Linked DNA regions of Homo sapiens: regions 2, 3 and 4 are each linked to region 1. The links are contacts of gene promoters, found by promoter capture Hi-C in blood cells and fetal thymus (Javierre and others, 2016). All regions are on one chromosome and are shown on one strand. Each heading gives the region's core, a stretch centred on a gene start or on the middle of the fragment in contact. The rest is flanking DNA. Distances are from core to core; before and after follow the strand shown.

The links. Contacts are between HindIII fragments. The CHiCAGO score rates a contact against its expected background, and 5 or more counts as called.
Region 2: a fragment that was not itself captured here is called in contact with the fragment with the promoter of INPP5A in region 1 in 7 of 17 cell types (fetal thymus, naive CD8 T cells, total CD8 T cells and 4 more); the score reaches 7.9 in fetal thymus.
Region 3: a fragment that was not itself captured here is called in contact with the fragment with the promoter of INPP5A in region 1 in 4 of 17 cell types (total CD4 T cells, activated CD4 T cells, non-activated CD4 T cells and 1 more); the score reaches 6.6 in total CD4 T cells.
Region 4: a contact is called between a fragment that was not itself captured here and the fragment with the promoter of INPP5A in region 1, in 1 of 17 cell types (neutrophils). The highest score is 5.2, in neutrophils.

The regions. Positions count from the first base shown.
Region 1 is chr10:132,536,199-132,539,324 of GRCh38, forward strand. It overlaps INPP5A (inositol polyphosphate-5-phosphatase A), which reads left to right and starts at 1,589. Exons shown (of 16, transcript NM_005539.5): 1 at 1,589-1,973. The coding sequence starts at 1,899. It overlaps LOC107984282 (a long non-coding RNA gene), which reads right to left and starts at 725. Exons shown (of 4, transcript NR_158224.1): 1 at 528-725. RefSeq lists a silencer at 610-1,709 and an enhancer at 2,490-2,539. The HindIII fragment of the contact is 3,408 bases long and covers 551-3,126 here.
Region 2 is chr10:133,387,082-133,390,198 of GRCh38, forward strand. PAOX (polyamine oxidase) reads left to right here. Exons shown (of 7, transcript NM_152911.4): 5 at 1,875-1,987; 6 at 2,509-2,666. Among named protein-coding and RNA genes, the nearest start is that of MTG1, 5.5 kb to the right of the region's middle. RefSeq lists silencers at 1,430-1,587, 1,844-2,138, 2,728-2,807 and an enhancer at 1,548-1,677. The HindIII fragment of the contact is 2,734 bases long and covers 353-3,086 here.
Region 3 is chr10:131,975,159-131,978,302 of GRCh38, forward strand. All of the region lies in intron 1 of BNIP3 (BCL2 interacting protein 3), which reads right to left. Among named protein-coding and RNA genes, the nearest start is that of BNIP3, 5.2 kb to the right of the region's middle. The HindIII fragment of the contact is 4,564 bases long and covers 1-3,144 here.
Region 4 is chr10:133,361,574-133,364,512 of GRCh38, forward strand. It overlaps ECHS1 (enoyl-CoA hydratase, short chain 1), which reads right to left. Exons shown (of 8, transcript NM_004092.4): 8 at 912-1,360. The coding sequence ends at 1,295. Among named protein-coding and RNA genes, the nearest start is that of FUOM, 5.0 kb to the left of the region's middle. The HindIII fragment of the contact is 2,031 bases long and covers 264-2,294 here.

The DNA of each region.
Region 1 (3,126 bases), core at 339-2,838:
TGACTAAAGTAGACATTGGTTTATACATCAAATGGATTTTGCTGGAGTCCTGCTCAGCGGTGGCCGTAAGGAGGAACCCTGGGGGTGTTAACACAAGCCAGTGATGCGGCCTCAGCACAGGCCTGGGGCCCGAGCCTGCAGCACCATTCCTGCCGCCCCGCCCTGGCAGCAGGTGTCTTCCTAGAACAGAACAAGCCCCTTTTGATGTCATTGGGCATTGCCTTGGCGGTTTACTCAGAAGCTGGAGGCTAGCCTCGCTAGAGCCCATTGCCAGGCCCTGACCGCCCCTAAATCTGTGTCCACAAAATCCTCCGGAGTGCCTGCTCCGCATGGTGGCCACTGGCCACACAGGGCTGCTGAGCACTGGAAGCGGCCTTGTGAGCTGCTGCCAAGAGGCAGGTGCCCGTGCAAAGCCTTCCTGTGAAGGAATCTCACTGAGGTTGTTAAATTCTGGTTACATGTTGAATGATGTATCTATCTATTGGGTTAAGTAAAACGTATTGTTAACTTTGGCTATTACTTGTTACCTTTAAAAAATGTAGCTACTGGAAGCTTTAAGATGACAAATGTGGTTCTCCTCCTCCATCTACAGGCATGTCCCGGTTCACGGCGGCTGTGTCCCCGCGGCCTCAGACCCAGGGTCCAGCCCATGCTCTGGCCCCTCCGGCGGCCAGGATCAGCATCGCTGCCCCGGGGCCCGCGCCGAGCCGGCTGCTCCTCCGTGCTCTGCGCTCCTGGGCCCGCACCAGCCCCCTCCCCTGGAGCCCCCTTCGTCCCTGCGAGGGTTCCCTGCACGCCCCGCGCTGAGACCCAGCCTGGCCCGGGCCGGAGCCCTCCGCGACGTCAGGATGCGCCTGGCCTCACGCCGCCTCCCCTCCGTCTTCTCTGGGCCGCAGCCGCTCCTCGTGAGTGAGGTCGCGGCCAGGGAGCCGGGTGGACGCGCCGGGAAGCTGCACGGTCCACGCTCCGTCTGCGCGGAGAGCCGGGCGCGCGTGGCCCGGCCCCTGCAGGCGCGACTGCCGCCGCCCCGGTGGGCTCCCCTCCCCCGCACGCCCGGCACGCGGCTGGACGACTGCGGCCGCGCGGGGGCTGGAACATCCCCTCAGAGCCGCAAGAGAGCGCACCCGCCGCCGGCGCCCGGAACCCAGGGCCCCTTTAAGAGGCGCCGCCGGAGCAGGGCCGTGACGTCATAGAAGTGCGAAGGGCGGAGTCTGTGCGCAGCCGCGGCGCGGGGGGCGGGGCGGGGGCGCGGCGTTCTTGCGGGCCTGACTGACAGGAGCGCCCTCCGGGAGCGACCAGTACTAGGCCGCCGGTCGCAAGAGCGCCCCGCGTAGGCCCCGCCCCGAAAGGAGGCCCCGCCCCGGGGCAGGCCCCGCCTCCACAAGGACACCAAGTCCCGCACAAGCCACGCCCCCCGCAGGCCCCGCCCCACTCTGTTCAGATCTAGGCCCAACTCAGGCTCCGCACCTCAAGGCTCCGCCCCCAGCAAGGCTCCGCCCCAGGCCCGGCTCCACCCCGCACAGGCCCCACCCCGAGTCAGGCTCCGCCCCGCCCAGGCCCCGCCCCGGGCTCGGCTCCGCGGGGCGGGACTTGCCCTCAGCCTGAGTCGGCGGCGGCTGCGGGAACTTTCCCAGCGGATCTAATGGCTGCGCGCGGGCCGCTGTGAGGCGCGGCGGCGAGCGACGGGCGCGGGGCCGCGGAGCAGCGAGCGAGCGAGCGAGCGCGAGGCCGGAGCCCCGGCCAGGCCCGGCCGACCCGCCGAGCCCGCGATGCGCCCCGGGGCCGCCCCCCGGCGCAGCTGACGCCCCGCGGCCCCGCGAAGACCCCGGCCGGCCGGTCCCGGAGGAAGCGGCCGCCGCCGCCGCCGCCCAGCCCAGCGCCCGCGCCGCCCGGGCACCATGGCGGGGAAGGCGGCCGCCCCGGGCACCGCGGTGCTGCTGGTCACGGCCAACGTGGGCTCGCTCTTCGACGACGTAAGTCCCCCGTGCCGGCGGCAGGCCCCAAGCCCGGAACCCCCGACCCTGACCCCGGGGTCCCGAACTGCAAGCCTTGGACCCTGGACCGTGAACCTCCAGACCCAGAGGCCCCAGACTCTGATCCCTGTACCCGGGACCCCAGACTCCTGTCCTGATTCCCAAGTCTGGGAGCCCAGACCCCTGTCTTGATCCCCAAGCCCGAGACCTGAAGACCTGGGCCCTGAATCCCCGAACCCCATCCTCCAGACTCCAGCAGCTGACCGTTGACCCTGGGACCCTGCCTCTGAACTCCTGTCTGCAAATCCTGACCTCGAAACTCCAATATTAAAACCCTGTCAGAACCCCTGTTAACAGTTCCTGGAACCCAAACCCCAGAAACCGGGTCTGTGCGCACCAAACCCAGCCCCAGCCCTGATTTCCGAATCCTCAGAACCCTGGCCCTGGAATGCCCATCCCCAACCCTGGCCCTGAACCCCAGGTCCATGGTCACTGGAACCACAAATCCTGACTGCAGAACTCTGGTTACAGAACCTGCTCTCAAACGTCTGTCTCTGGTCCCTGAGCCCTGGACCCCAAACCCTGAAACATAACCACAAACCCTAACCCAGGAACTTCTGACACAGGGCTGTGGCCCCAACCTCCTGTCCCTGTTCCCCAATCACTGAATTCTAGCCCTAGAATCCCAGCCTTCATACTGTGGCCCTTTGCCTCTAAAGCCAATCTAGCCTGACTCTGAACCCTGAATTTCAACCTCAGGCCCCAGCTTATGGCCCTGAACACTTGTCCTTGACCCCTGAACCTGGAACCCTGGTTCCAGAATCAGGCCCCAAACCCAATTCTGGACCCTGCCCCTAACTCTGGTTCCTAGATCCCATCCTTGGCCCCTTCCTCCAACAAGCTCCTGCCCCTGAATCCTGAATCCTGAATCCTGGTCTTAAAGCCTGGGCCTTGAGCCTGCAGAATTCCCAAACCCTAACCCTTGACTCCCACCCCTGGCCCCTGTCCTCTGAGCCTAGGCCCTCCACTCTGGCTGTCAGCCCCAGCTCCTGGATGCCTGGGTGCCGGCCTCACTGTCTGTCTGTCCCTGCAGGGCCAGAGGGTAGGGTGCCCCCATTTAACCCTGCCACTTAGTATCTCTTTAGTTCGTAAA
Region 2 (3,117 bases), core at 470-2,969, 850 kb after region 1:
CAGCCTGGGCAACATAGCAAGACCCAGTCTCTACCAAAAATACAAAAAGCTAGCCAGATGTGGTGGTGCGTGCCTGTGGTCCCAGCTACTGGGAGGCTGAGGTGGGAGGATTGCTTGAGCCCAGGAGGCGGAGGTTGCAGTGAGCTGTGATCAAGCCACTGAACTCCAGCCTGGGCAACAGAGGGAGGCCATGTCTTAAAAAAATAAAATATATATATATTGGTTCATGTAGTCTTCCAAATGTTGATACATTTCATTATACAATATAAAAAATCAAATTTATTAACATACCACTGATCTCAGAAAAGTCTTTCAGGATTGGGAAGCTGTTATGCTGTTGGTGGCAGAAACAAGCTTTTCTAAAATTGCAGTTTTTGCTTGAGAGCTTAAACTTTGTCATTGTCTATAAATACTATTTGTTAGTTGTTTTCCTGTGATAGAGACACTTTGCTCATTTTCAAGAAAATGTCACCAAATACCACACCATGATTTGTCTGACTGGTGCTCTCCTGAGTTCTGAGCCTGTCTGTGAAAGACGCACCAGCCCCGCCTGGAATAGCGTGTGCTAGGTGAGTCCTCCACGGCCACCGTGCACCACGCGCAGCAGGAGTGTTCTATGCGGATCCCGCTTCTCCACGCAGATTATTATTATTTTTTGAGATGGAGTCTTACTCTGTCGCCCAGGCTGGAGAGCAGTGGCGCGATCTTGGCTCACCGCAACCTCCACCTCCCGGGTTCATGCCATTCTCCTGCCTCAACCTGCCGAGTAGCTGGGACTACAGGTGCCCGCCACCACGCCTGGCTAATTTTTGTATTTTTATTAGACAGGGCTTTACCATATTGACCAGGCTGGTCTCGAACTCCTGACCTCGTGATCCGCCCGCCTTGGCCTCCCAAAGTGCTGGGATTACAGGCCTGAGCCACTGTGCCTGGCCCTCCACGCAGATTATTAAAAAGACATGAACTCGAGGATCAAGATTTAATAAAATTAGTAACTTTTACTGCCTTTGATCAAGGACATTCTCAAGTGAAAGCAGCATTTTTATTTATTTTTTAATATATATATTTTAATTTTTATATTCAGAGGCAGGGATATACGTGCAGGTTTGTTATGTAGCTAACCGTGTATCATGGGGGCTTGTTGTACAGATTAGTTCTATCACCCAGGAATTAAACCTAGTACCCATTAGTTATTTTTCCTGCTCCTCTCCCTCCTCCCATCCTCCACTCTCCCATAGGCCCCAGTGTGTGTTCTCATCATTTAGCTCCCACTTGAAAGGGAAAACATGTGCTGTCTGCTTTTCTGTTCCTGTGTTAGTTTGCTAAGGATAATGGCCTCCAGCTCCATCCATGTCCCTGCAAAGGACATGATCTCGTTCTTTGACGGCTGCAAAAAGCAGCATTTTGTAACCCTCATGTGCAGTGGTGGGAACGCCTGTAGGCGCATGTGGATCCTGTTGCTGCCTGATTCTGCTAAGGGACGGTTTACCTGCCCTGGCTCTTGCTCAGGTGCAAATGTCGGCGTGGTGGAAACAGCAAATGCTGTCTTAGCGTCTGAAGATGGCTGTGACCTTGAGGGTCCCTGGCAGGGCCTTCGGACCCCCAGGACTTTGCCGCCCACACTCTGCGAACTGCTGCCTGAGGGACGCTCTGTGGGGTGGCTCTTTGTGCCTCTGGGGCCCCTGCTCCATCAGTGGTTCCTTGCTGAGAAACGCGGGCGGAGAGCTGGGCTGGACACTGTCATCCCGGGGCTCTCTTTCTCCATGCAGGTCTGGTCATCCCAGGGCTCTCTTTCTCCATGCAGGTCTGGTCATCCCAGGGCTCTCTTTCTCCATGCAGGTCTGGTCATCCCAGGGCTCTCTTTCTCCATGCAGGTCTGTCCACGTTCTCTGTGGGTTCATTGCCGGACTTGAGTCTGAGTTCATGGAGACTCTGTCGGATGAAGAAGTACTTCTGTGTCTCACCCAAGTGCTCCGGAGAGTGACAGGTAGGTACTCACCACACACGCTGGTTCCTGCCTCTGCTCGTTACTGGTTGATCTCTAAACAGAAACTAGACTTTGCAGAACAGAGAAAAACTAAATTTGGCTGACTCTGTACATCTCCAGGGACCATCCTTCCTCATGTTAGTGGGGTCAGTAACAGTTCTTACCTCCGAGGAACTGAAATGACTTTGCAAACACTTCCTACTTCTGCCACCAAAATAAATGCCGTTGTCCTTGATCAGATTTTTACAGAGGAGGAACCCAAGGCTCGGAAACAGTAGCTGCTGCTGTCACAGCTCCCGGGTCCCGGCCCGCTGCTGTCGGGTCAGAGGCCCCCGGGTCCCAGCCCACTGCTCTCGGGTCAGAGGCGGCAGGAAGAGCCTCTCCTGACACACTCTGCTGCTCACTTTTCTTCCTGCATAGCATCTTTCACGTTAAACTGCTCAATCTTTAAAAATGACAAAAACAGTTGCAGACCTGTGGGTGAGAGTTCTCGGTTAACATGCAGTGTCTCTGTGGCTCAGGAAACCCACGGCTCCCCGCGCCCAAGAGCGTCCTGCGGTCTCGCTGGCACAGCGCCCCGTACACTAGGGGGTCCTACAGCTACGTGGCCGTGGGCAGTACTGGGGGCGACCTGGACCTGCTGGCTCAGCCCCTCCCTGCAGACGGCGCCGGCGCCCAGGTATGTGGCGTGCCCCAGTCGGGGGGCGTGGGTCCCGCTGCAGAGGCCCCCGCCGAGTCTGGGCGCTGCAGGAGCACCAGCCAGTGGCGGGTGGGCTGGGATCCCAGACTCGGAAGCCATTTTCTTTTTGAAACTAAGAATAATTTTTAAATGTACTGTTTTTGTGAGAATTATACACACACAGCTTAAAAAGTCAGAGAATTCTGCAGTGCTAACAAAAGAAAATAAAACCAAAATGGCAGGTGGAGCCCCTTTTGCCCTTCTCAGACGGTGCTCCCAGCTGATTCTCATCGCTAAGTTTACTGCATCTCTAAAAACATGTTTCTGCTACCACGTTTTGAGATACATTTCCTGTGCAAAATGTCAAACATACTAAAGTAGGGAGAACCTTTCAGTGCCCACCAGGCTTCCCCTAAGCCAAGCTTCTCCCCGCCCACCCCCGCCCTTTTTT
Region 3 (3,144 bases), core at 221-2,720, 560 kb before region 1:
ATGGATTAATTTTCCCATTGATGTGAGACGGATGCCCCATTTACTGCAGACAGCTCCCGCCTCACTCTGCGCTGGCTGCTTCCTGTGTCAGAAATCAAGCGTGCATATAGGCACACGTCTATTTCTGGGCCCCAGATAATCTCTCTACTTTGTGTCATAGGTTTATTTATTTAAAGCAAATCTGGTAGGAGCTTCCTCTGGTAGCGTATGGAGGATGGAGTGCAGTGGGAGGAAAGTGCAGGCCACAAAAGACAGGGAAACTTATGGACGAGAACAATGGAATTATCTCATTTTTGCAGTCACTATAATTTTAGTAAGCAGAATAATCACCCTGAGCTGCTGACTGTCCTTAAACCAACACAGCACTAATAACACCATGCAATTAGGGGGAAAGGAGCAGCCTCTTCATCCGTCATGTTCGCTGGAAGCAAAGGCAGGTGCACAGCTTTCCACACACACGAGGCATCTCTCCTGAAAGAGGGCTGGCCTAGGCTCCATACGCCACTTGTTGCAGAGTCTATTTCATATTAACCAGAAAAAAGCAAACCGAAGGCCCAGGAAGGAAAAGTGGATTTGCAACTTATGCCATCAACAGTCTCCCAGTAAGCTGCTAACGAAATGATCACACAAATTTTCAAATGAACGCATGATTGTTCTCTTTGGCCTCTCACGTTGCCTCATGTCCTGGCCTACACGAAGCACATCCCTAATACAAAGGCAAGCCAGGGTCTGTCTCGGAGCCTGGAGCTCAATGGAGGAGAAAGGCCCAGGCCAGTCTGCCCCACACTCTGGCAGAGGCTACATGGTGCCTTCTGAGATGTACAGACCACACCATTCCTGAAGCCGCTCATCTGACCAGACAGTATTGCCAAGTACTCTGATGTTCACTAGCCCTCCTTCCCTCTCTGCGGTTCAAGATGCCATGCGGCCGGCTAGCCATGGCCTGCCCCTGAGAGAACGGCACCACAGCCTCTGTTTTGGCCAGCTGTCTTTCTCCGCTGAATCTACAGTATTCAGATTCTGGGCCTGCTTCAATTTACTTGACTAAAGTGTTGTTCAGCTATCTGACGATATGGAACACAAATGCAACTTGAAGGTGTGGTGTCTCTTCTCTGATGCCACTCTTAACATCAAATGTGGGACACCAAGTCACCACCACCGGGGTGTCCAACGATTCAATTCCATTCTATCTACCTAGACTTAGTGTGGAGCCCACAAGACTGTTCCCACAGATGCAAGCAGAGAATGGGGTGTCCAGGTTACCCGTATTTCTGCCAGTGCCTCTACCTACTCAGGGGATCCCACACACCTGCCTCAGGTTCAGTAATTTACTACAATTCACAGAACTCAGAAAAACTCTTTACTTACATTTATCAGTTTACCAGAAACAATTCCAGGGCAGACAAATGGAAATGACATACAGCCCAGATCCCCACCTACCCCACACGTCCCAACCCTAACCCCAACCACACTCTCTGCAACCAGACTCCCACTTACCCCACATGTCCCAACCCTAACCCCAACCATGCTACCCGCACCTCATGGCTCCCCCATCTCCATCTCCAGTCCCCTCCCCTCCTAGGAGGGGCTGCCCTGGGAATTTCTACCTCAAGTAACTATCCTGGGGCCACCCTTGAGCCACTGTATTAGCAGTGTATTCTGAAGGGGCTCCTTACAACTTACACCAAAAATGGTTAACCAAGGAGCACTTTTGGAGTACACTGCTAATAGGGTGACTTTATGAATAACGCACACACTGGTCAGGTTGTTCTGCCTATGGAGTCACCATCTTTTTACTGTTTTACTTTCTTTAATAAACATGCTTAAGACACTTATTGGCACAGCGGTTCATGCCTGTAATCCCAGCACTTTGGGAGGCCGAGGCGGGCAGATCATCTGAGGTCAGGAGTCAGAGACCAGCCTGACCAACATGGTGAAACCCCGTCTCTACTAAAAATACAAAATTAGCTGGGCGTGGTGGGCGCCTGTAATCCCAGCTACTCGGGAAGCTGAGGCAGAAGAATCCCTTGAACCTGAGAGGGGGAGGTTGCAGTGAGCCGAGATCATGCCACTGCCCCCCAGCCTGGGCAACAATAGCGAAACTCTGTGTCTCAAACAAAAAAAAAAGACACTGCTCAGGAAGCCCCAGGGGTTTAGGTGCTCTGCACCAGGAAGTAGGTAGGGTCAAGACCAAACACATACTGTAATCTATCACACAAGGGGCAGGCTGAAGACAACAGGGAGAGGAAGATGAAGGAGAGACAAGTGTATCTCTGTCATCCTCTGCGCTACTGCAACAGAATCCCACAGACTTAGTGATTTACGAACAGAAACTGATCTCTGTTCTGGAGGCTGGGAAGTCCAAGATCCACGCACCAACATCTGGTGTCGGCTGAGGGCCTTCCTGCCTCATCCCTTCAATGAGGCTACAGAGGGACCCACCTCCCTCCATCCAGCCCCTTAGAGCACTAATCCCATTCACTAGAGAGGAGCCCCTATGGCCGAGCCACCTCTTAAAGGCCCACCTTTTACTACCATCCCACTGGCAACATGGAGGAACACATTCGAACCAAAGCAGTGCTTTTTAAACATCACCCCAGAAAGGACCTAAAAATCCAGGAAACAAGGAAAAAAAACTCACTCCAGATTGTCCATGGCTAATGACTTTGGGCCCAAAAGCTGTATTCCCAGGAATGATTTACTAAGGGACAGGAGTTTTATTATTAACCCACAGCAACCGCGTAGGAAAGGAAGGCACTTCCTGGAGAATGGAGCGTGCTGTGTATCTACTCACGTGTTACAGTTCTCCACTCGGATCGTTCACCTTTTCAAAGAAAGATGGGCTTACAGTAAGGTTGCTTAATAACCTTAGAAAACTTGCTCATAATCACAAGCAGTTTACACTTCAAATCACTGTAGTATAATTAGGCCCCAGACGGAAAGGTGCTGCTGTTGCTGCTGCAAGAAAAGCCCTCCTTCCTAATCTCATTTCGCGTCCCTCTCATGTTCCTCCCCCTCCTCACTCACTTATAATTTACATTGCTAACAAGACACACAGCCAGTAAATCTTACCTCCCTCCTATATCAAGGTAGATGAGATTTTGAAAAGCCTAGACTATAAATATTTATATCACAGTACAAAAA
Region 4 (2,939 bases), core at 29-2,528, 830 kb after region 1:
CCTAGGACACTAAACCCACTCGAAGAGCTCTGCCCTTGTGACTAGTCATTGCCCAAAGTCCCCCCTCCTAATGCAGTCACGGTAGGGGTTAGGATTTCAACCCAGGGATTTGGGGTGGGGCTGAGTGAAATGAGCCTGACCCAAAGGGATAAATGGAGGTCCCTCCATAGAGACAGGAAGTAGAAGCGTGGGTGCCAGGAGCTGGAGGGAAGCAGAAAAGGGGTTGTTGTTTAACGGGGACAGTTTCCGTTTGGGAAAATGAAAGCTTTCTTGGATAGTCATGGCTGCACAACGAGAACGTACTTAATGCCGCTGAAATGTGCATTTGAAATGGTTCAGACCAGCCTGGGCAACACGGGGAAACCCCGTCTCTACAAAAGGTAAATTTAAACAGTCAGCTGGGTGTGGGAGTGCGCCCCTGTGGTCCCAGCTACTTGGGAGGGGGGGAGGATCACTTGAGCCCAGGAGATTCAAGCTGCAGTGAGCTGTGACTGAGCCACGCACTCCAGCCCGTCTCTAAAACACAGTGGTTAAGATGATCAAGTTGACGTCGTGTGTTCCCACAGTAGAGAAGAATGCAGTAAACTGAACAGAGAGCTCCTTATGACAGAAGTAGGAAGAAAATAGGGTGGGCTCTCGTGAGGAAAGGGCTCGACGTGAGTGGGCGTGGAAGAAAACCATAGACCATGCCTGTGCCCGTGTGCAGGGGTGTGTGGGTGCGTGCACAGAACTCTAGGAAGTCACAAGCCCAGCTGTTCACAGTGGCTACCCTGGAAGTATGATGTGAGGCAACTGACTATACAAACTTGTTTTGTTTGAATGTTGTTCCTTACAGTGAAAAAACAAAAAAGTTTAAAAAAACAACTAACATGACAGAATGCTCATTGCAGACATGACTACAAGGCGTGGTGTAATCTGAATCGCTATCACTTTAATCAGCATCTGTATGAAGGCAGCAGACAGCGTTTCCCTCAGAGCAGCCCCATTCTTCAGCGGCAGGGACACAAGGACCCGCAGGCCCCGCTTTCCGTCCGAGCACAGCATGCCCAGAGGGACCAGCGGGGGCTCCTCAGCAGAATCTTAGATTTAGAAGGTGCTCCAGTCAGGACCCTCACAGGCTGGGTGACGAAGGCTGTCATGCCGTGAGAGGTCGGGCCACGACCACGCAGCAATTGGAGAGGAACTGCACACCACGGACACTGCTCTTGAAAAGAGGATGATTTACTTGCTTCTAAAACTGACAGGCTGCACTTGTCCTCTCCAAGCAGAGGTGTGAAGCAGGGGCAGCTGGTTCTCACTGGTCTTTGAAGTTGGCCTTTCTCTTTTCCACAAACGCGGTCATCCCTTCTTTCCGGTCATCCTGGCAGGAAAAGGAACAGAAACAGAGCTGGACGCGCAGTATCCTCACAGAGCCTGATGCCAATGTCCGCCCGTCTCTCCCTGGCTCTGCCTCACTCATGCTCACAGGGGCCCAGGGGGCCGGGGAGGGGACTCAGCGGCAGGAACACCTGCCCAATCAGAGCTGGGCCTGGGCGCGGGGATTTTCACGGCCTCTCTCTACCAGTCTAGGTGACGGTCATTCAGGAGCCACTGTGTATGTCCAACAAGCTCACATCTAAAGAGCCTCAGATGCACCCATCTTGGTCACTCACCATGTCATCAACTGGATGATGGGTGGCCTGTATCAGGGGCTACTCTGTGTTGGAGTAGGACGTGAGAACTCAACTCTGCATCTGCTTTTCTTACACTGTGTGCACGTGTGTCCCCAGGTGTGCGCGCGCGCACACACACACACACACACACACACACACGCATCTGTACCCCTTCCTCAGGTGCCCAAACCACTTTTAATTTTTATTTTATAGAACAATTAAAACACCGAAGTATGACTTTCTCCCAGTGAAAGACATGAATTAAAATGGTAATCTGGCCGGGTGCAGTGGCTCACGCCTATAATCCCAGCACTGTGGGAGGCCGAGGCAGGCAGATCACTTGAGGTCAGGAGTTCAAGACCAGCCTGGCCAACATGGTGAAACTCTGTCTCTACTAAAAATACAAAAATTAGCCAGGTGTGGTGGTGGGCACCTGTAATCCCAGCTACTCGGGAGGCTGAAGCAGGAGAATCACTTGAACCCAGGAGGTGGAGGTTGCAGTGAGCTGAGATCTCACCACTGCATTCCAGCCTGGACGACCGAGCAAGACTCTGCCTCAAAGGGAAGAAAATTAAAATTATGATGGTAATTAGAGGAATTACTTTAAGTTACTGGCAGAAATCTTATAAAATATTGCTCTAAAGCTTCAGCTTATCTTATTAGAATACATTTGAGCCTATTCCAAATAATTGGAATGATCTAAAAAAACATGGGTAAAATGAGTTACATTTTTTTTTTCAGACAGAGTCTCACTCTGTCTCCCAGGCTGGAGTGCAGTGGCGTGATCTCGGCTCACTGTAATCTCCGCCTCTGGGTTCAAGCGATTCTCCTGCCTCAACTTCCAGAGTAGCTGGGATTACAGGCACCTGCCACCACGCCCGGCTAATTTTTTGGATTTTTAGTAGAGACGGGTTTCGTCATGTTGCCCAGGCTGGTTTCAAACTCCTGAGCTCAGGCAATCCACCCGCCTCAGCCTCCCAAAGTGCTGGGATTACAGGGTGAGCCACCGCGCCCGGCCTCATTTTTTAAAAAAGTCTTTTTTTTGAGACGGGGTCTTGCTTTGCTGCCCAGTTGGACTCGAACGACCCGCCTCAGCCTCCCAGGAAGCTGGGGCTACGGATGCTCGACACCCACCCGGCTGAAACTGCATTTTCAATAAAGGAGCTGCTTGAGGGTGCAATTCACAGACCTCACATAACAGGAAAAACAAGAAAAGCCCCTGTAAGGTTTCTGTACTTTTGAACTTGTACATGCTCTACTTTTTTCCTAACATCAAGACCCACTGAT